2 separate regions of the Homo sapiens genome follow, and region 2 is linked to region 1. The links are contacts of gene promoters, found by promoter capture Hi-C in blood cells and fetal thymus (Javierre and others, 2016). All regions are on one chromosome and are shown on one strand. The core of a region is centred on a gene start or on the middle of the fragment in contact, and the rest is flanking DNA. Distances in the headings are between cores, read along the strand shown.

Evidence for each region. The method cuts DNA at HindIII sites, captures the fragments that hold promoters and counts their contacts. A CHiCAGO score of 5 or more calls a contact.
Region 2: a contact is called between the fragment with the promoter of KNCN here and the fragment with the promoter of FAAH in region 1, in 1 of 17 cell types (M0 macrophages). The highest score is 5.1, in M0 macrophages.

Annotation. Positions count from the first base shown.
Region 1 is chr1:46,392,832-46,395,805 of GRCh38, reverse strand. It overlaps FAAH (fatty acid amide hydrolase), which reads right to left and starts at 1,489. Exons shown (of 15, transcript NM_001441.3): 1 at 1,263-1,489. The coding sequence starts at 1,457. RefSeq lists an enhancer at 1,088-1,601. The HindIII fragment of the contact is 1,150 bases long and covers 567-1,716 here.
Region 2 is chr1:46,550,170-46,553,250 of GRCh38, reverse strand. It overlaps KNCN (kinocilin), which reads left to right and starts at 1,604. Exons shown (of 4, transcript NM_001322255.2): 1 at 1,604-2,186. The coding sequence starts at 2,036. All of the region lies in intron 3 of MKNK1-AS1 (MKNK1 antisense RNA 1), which reads right to left. RefSeq lists an enhancer at 2,842-3,081. The HindIII fragment of the contact is 11,434 bases long and covers 1-3,081 here.

The sequences.
Region 1 (2,974 bases), core at 240-2,739:
GTTCCTCTCCACGAAAGTGTGGCTGCAGAGTGCAGCGGGCACCTAGGTTCTAGTTCCAGCTCTGCCCCAACTCAAAAATCACTTGCGGAACATCTGCTGAACACAATTTTCTGTGACTCTTTCTGTCTCCCACCCAGGCACACCCTCCTGAGTCCTGCGGTTCCCAACCTGTAAAGCCTTCCCACCTGTCAGGTCCCACAGATACAGCAAGCCCTCCCTCTCTCAGCACATAAGAAGGCTTTAACTGGGGTCAGTGTTTCACACACCCAGAGGAAAAGCCCCTCTTCAAGCCACATCTTCCAAACCCTCAGCCAGGCCCTTCCACGCCTCCAAACCCACATACTGAGGTGATCCAAAGGCAGCGCAGGGAGAAAAGCTTGTTGACAGACCACCCACGGAGGGCTGGAACTAAACCTGCTCATGGAAAGGGCTTGCCAGGGGTTGGACACCACAGCAGGAGCCAGAGAGACTTCCCTTCTAGCCTGGCTTTGCCAAGATCTCCCTGTGCACTTGGCAGGTTTCTTTCTGGCTCCCTCTTAGGATCCAAATGCACAAATCAAGAAGCTTGAACTCAGCCAGGCGCGGTGGCTCACGCCCAGCACTTTGGGAGGCCGAGGCAGGTGTATCAACTGAGGTCAGGCGTTTGAGATCAGCCTGGCCAACATGGTGAAACCCAGTCTCTACTAAAAATGCAAAAATTAGCCAGGCGTAGTGGCGGGCCCCTGTAATCCCAGCTACTGGGGATGCTGAGGCAGCAAGAATCGCTTGCACCCGGGAGGCGGAGGTTGCAGTGAGCCGAGATCGCACCACTGCACTCTTGCCTGGGAGTCAGAGCGAGACTCCGTCTCAAAACAAAACAAAAAAAAACAAAAAACAAAACTCTAAGCTCTCCAGATCCCCTTGGCCATTACACTCTGCGATTCCAAAGTCCTCAACCCCTGGCATCCCACTGGTTGTCACGCTTGCGTTTTCGCATTCCAATAGGCAGCAATCGTGAGATTCTTTGGCACAAAGCAAAACTCCTCTTTGACCCAGTGAGGGAAAGGCCTTCCACCACCTGCCTTGACACTACCGTTTCCTTTCTTCCCCCGTGCTCTACCTGGCTCAGAAAGTGCGGAATATCTTAGGGCAAGGAGAGATTCTGGAGAGTTACACATCTGCTCTGCCCGCCCCATCCCCTGTCCCTCGGCGGGTCCGGCGGCTGAAAGTGCCGCTGCGAGTACCCTCAGGCCGCGCCCATCCCACTACGCTCCGGCAGTCACCTGGAGCCGGAAGCGCTGCGCCGCCCTGTCCATGTTCTCCAGGCCCGCTCGCTGCCTCTGTCGCGCCCGGACCACCGCGCCCCGCGCCGTCCGGCGCCCGGACCAGCGCAGGGCCACGGCCGCCGCCACGAAGCAGCAGGCCAGGGCGACCCCGGAGGCGCCAGGCAGCGCGGCCCACAGCTCGTACTGCACCATGATCCCTTCAGCCTGCTGCTGCCTACCGCGACAGTTGAAGCCGCCGCACGCGCAGCCCGCCCGCTCCGCCGCAAAACCCGGACTGGATCAGCCGGGATCCCACGCCCGCCTGCGCGGGAGGGGCGGGGAAGCGCGCCAGAGCCTAGAGGCTATCAGAGGCGGCCCGCCTGGCATCGCCCCCAGCGACATCCCGCTCCCCGCCAAGCCGAGCAGGCGGGTGGGGAAGGGCGACTGTTTCTCGTGGGCGACCTCCCAAGCTTGAGTTTAGCACCGGTTGGGCACCACAGCCCCGGCCGTCCTCTGCCCCCTGCACCCCAGAGCCCCAAATGCTGAAGACTGCGCCCCAGCCGGAGCCCCATGCCAGACATGCCAGCTGTTAGATATGAGTTCTAAATTTATCTTAAAAGAATCAATATGTCAGTATCTTCAATTCTTTGCCTTCTACTTTTAAACTTAACTTCCTCATAAAGCAACATTTTTCGATTACCTGCTCCTCCCTCACTCATTCTTCACCGTGGTTCATTCCGATTTCCTGCTCTGCGGTAACCATTTTTCCCGCCAAACCACTCACCCCCTCACTGTCTTTAAATTAGCCAATCGGAATTAGTTTAGCCTATAGGTCTAACCCTAGCCAACAGGGGAAGGACACAGCATCAGGAATCACGTGGGTCAGGCATAAGAACCACCTTCCCCTCCCTTGTCCAGGTGTGCGCTCACCTTTGCTCCGTCTGTGAGGGCGCACCCTTCTATAGAAGTAAATTGCCTTGCTGAGAAGAAAAAAAAGAAAATTTTATATTCGAGTGCTATTTCTTTTGCGGCACTGGGGGGAAACTTTATTTATAACAATTTGGGGGCTTGCTCGTGATTACATTCCCCTTCAGGGGCAGTCTCTGGTTCTCTCTCCTGAGGAGGTATGCCCCACCCTCTTGTGATGGCCTCAGGGGTGAGAAATCAGGACTCACCCAGTGCAAGAAATAACCTGAGCTCTCAGCAATGTGAAAAGAAACCAGCAGGCAACCTAGGGTAAAGCATCCTCACACACTGCAGAGACAACTCTGTGCACAGACAAAGGAAGAAGCCGAGGGAGCCGGTAAGGTACTTCCTTGGTGGTCAAATTCTGGAGGGCTAAATGTGTGTGTGCGTGAATGATCACAAACAACCCTACCTGTGGTGTTGTTCGTGTGGATGATGACAAGTCCTACTGCTGGACGGAGTGAGTGGGTCCTCTCCACGTTTCCGTAGCTACCTCATATGGCTTAGGGAGGATCCTGCGGTGGGATTTCTACTGGAATGCCAATGCTGAGGGGGGCCTAATTCTCCCTTGGGGGAGCAGCCAGAGAGGACAACACGAGTGGGAAGTGTGCAAAGGACCTTCAGAGGGGGAAAGGGAGGAAACAGGTCAACCTTCCAGGGAAGCAAGGCAAGACACCTCCTAGTTTGAGGGATTGAGCCTTCCAGGGCAGCAAGGCAAAACACCCCCTGGTTTGAGGGGTTGAGCCTTCCAGGTCAGGCAAGGC
Region 2 (3,081 bases), core at 355-2,854, 160 kb before region 1:
GGGGATCAATTATGTGTGACAGAGACATGGGCTATGATTTGATGCCTAATTAGAGGAATAATCAGATCTCATCCAGGCAGGAGGCACAGCAGATGCTGGCAGCAGCACCGTGGCTGGGGAATGCCCAGCTCCAGGGGTGTTCCCTCTGTGGGGAACAGGAACACAGTCCAGGGCCCATCTGTGTGCTGCAGTCACCCCTCTCTACAGACTCATCATGAGCCGAAGCTCCAACTCAGGTGACCCTGGGCCTTCTCAGGCCCCCTTCTCCACATACAAGGAATGCCTCTTGTTAGAGACAGAGGTTCCCTTGTGTCCACAGCCCTCCTCTTTGATGACTGGAGGTGGTTGTGCAGTCCAAGCCCTCTCCCTGAACTCTGTCCTCATGTTCAGAAGCCTAGCTCAGGTCCCTCCCAGCCACAGCATTCTGGGGAGCTCACTCCTGGAACCTGCCCTCAAGGGGCTCTCAGCCTACAGAGGAGATAGAACAAGAACAGGGCAGCCATGGAGGCAGGTGGAGGAACAAGAAGTTGAGCCTGGCAATATGAGACTGCAGATGCAGTGCAGAGAGGGGGCATCCAAAGAGAGGCCAGGGAGGCTGGCGACGGGACTCCGAGCAGGATTATGGGACCCTAGGAATTGTGCCCAGGTGCAGGGCCAGGCCGGGGCCATATTCTGAGACTGGGGGGTCCCCAATCCATAAAGGGCCAAATAACGCAATGAATGATAAAGGCTGGAACTGGGGGCCGGGGCAGGGCTCAGGGCTAGGCTGCATTGGTGACCACTGCCCAGCCTTGGGGTGGGGCATCCTGCAAGTAACTCAGACAGGCTGGGTGCAGGTGCTCAGTTCAGCGGATGGGAAGGCACCAACCATGACCCAGCCTCCCACTCCCGGCACCTAGCCCCTACCAAGTCCTCTTCTCTACCCTACCCCTTAGGTGTTTTCCTCCTGCCCACACCAGCACCACCACTGCTCTTCCCTTTCACTCCCAGTCGGGATCCCCAAGGTGGCTAGAAGGGTTCACTCTCCATTCCACTGGCCACTAAAAGGGGGGTGGGTACCAAGCCCACCTGAGGACAAGGGAGTCCCCTGAGATCAAGCCTCAAACTAGGACGCCCTCAGCCCTACCTGGGAGCCCAGAGGTGGACAGGATGGGGATGGGATGGGCAGGGGTAGGGAGCAGACTTGGAGGGATGCCTCTCCCTGTCCGCTTTCCATACCAGGTGCAGTTCCTGTCTCTTGAGCCTCCTGCTGTGTGTCTATCTCAGACTCCAAGCAGAGACCCCAGGTGCACCTCCAGGCCAAAGGGCAGAGCACATTACAGCGGGCCCTGAGCATGTGATCAGGAGTCTCCTCACATCCCTGGCTTCTGAACGACATGCAAAGCCACCAGCTCGTTCTTCCTCCTCAGGAACCAGCAGTGGAACCTGGGCTGACTGCCCGCTGGGCCCTGGGACCCAGACAGCCACTCACATTGCAACCTCATGAATAACTCAGCACCTCCCTGCTGCCTACATCTCTGAGGAGCCTGTGGCCGCTGGACCAACTCCCCCCTCACCCTGCCTCTCATTGCTTTAAATTTTCATAGGCTGAGGTTCAGTGGCAAGTAAGTGGCTCTAGGAAGCTGGGGCAGGATGTCCTGGGCAGGGGAGCTTGAACTCTCCTGGGTGGAGGCTGGCAGGGAAGGATCCTATGGAACAGGCCCAGCTCCCTAGAACTCTGGCAGCCAAAGCAGAAATGTAGCCAGACAGGAGTCCCAAGGGTGGGCTTCAGCTTCAGAGGGCTTTGAGAGAGGAAGAGTAAGCTGGGTGACCTCGTACAGATCCCTGGTCAAGGTGGGACTGGGGGGCCCGTAGTGGAGCAGTGGAATAGGACTGCAGATAAATCCCAGGGTTCCCCACCTATCATCTTACTGCCCAGAAACTCCTACCCTGAAGTTGGAGCGCCAACAAGGAGACATCCAAGAGCCCAGAAACTTCCAGGACTTTTCTGGGGCCAGACTGCACCGGCTGGAGGCAGTGCCCCGGGTGGGCCTGCATGGACATCCCCATCAGCAGCAGAGACTTCCGCGGCCTGCAGCTGGCCTGCGTGGCTCTCGGGCTGGTGGCTGGCAGCATCATTATCGGCATCTCCGTATCCAAGGCTGCAGCTGCCATGGGCGGTGTCTTTATTGGCGCTGCTGTTCTGGGTGAGCAGGGGCTGGGCTGGGATAGGGAAGGGAGATTCTGGAGGTGGGGGCAGGGGCATCGTCAGGTGAACAAGGAACAGGGAAGGGCTGGGTCAGCAGGAATCAGCTGGGGAGAACGGAAGCTAGAGGTGTGAGCAAGGCCGCCATCAGGGGCACAGGCGGGAGAGGAGCGACGCGCTGGGGCTCCTTCCAGCCACAGGGAGGAGAAAAGAAGGAGAGCTGGCCGTCACACTCTTTTCTGGCTACTCCCACTGGCTCTCCAGCCCCAAGCTCTAGGCTCCTGGATTTGTGGTGGGATTCATCAGCCTATCTGGGCGGAACAGGGGGTTGATGGCGGCAGGTAAAAGGACAGAGCTCCTGAGGACTCTCTGAGCCAAGACAGGCTCCAGCTCAGAAAAAGGGTTTCGTCTTCTTTCCCTGTTTGCCTCCACAGCAGCTGTGTCCATCTATCTGTGTGGGGCCACGCCCACTGATTGCCCCGCAGTGACGCTGAATGCCATCCCTCACCTCACCTCACCTCACCCCACCCCCCGCCCCCGCCCAGGCCAAAGGCAGGACCAGAAGCATCAGGCTAGGGGGCTTTAGGTATCTACACCTGCGGGTTCTGGCACAGATGCTCATCGGGGGATGGAGCGGGGGCGGGCAAGGCAGGACTGGCTCCACTGCTCCTGCTCCCCAGGTCTGGGTGGGGAGGAACATGCTGAGGACAAGCACCCAGTCCGGCCCTGGGGGCCCTGGGGAAGCGTGGGGACAGCAGAGACGCAGTGGTGGTGTCAGCCAGGCTCATTCCAGCAACCTGCTCTTCACTTAGGAACGGTGGAGCCAGGCAGGTGGGGCCTTCACAGTCTGTAGCCTCTTCCCCAAACAGGCACTGCCCCCACCAACCCAGATGCAC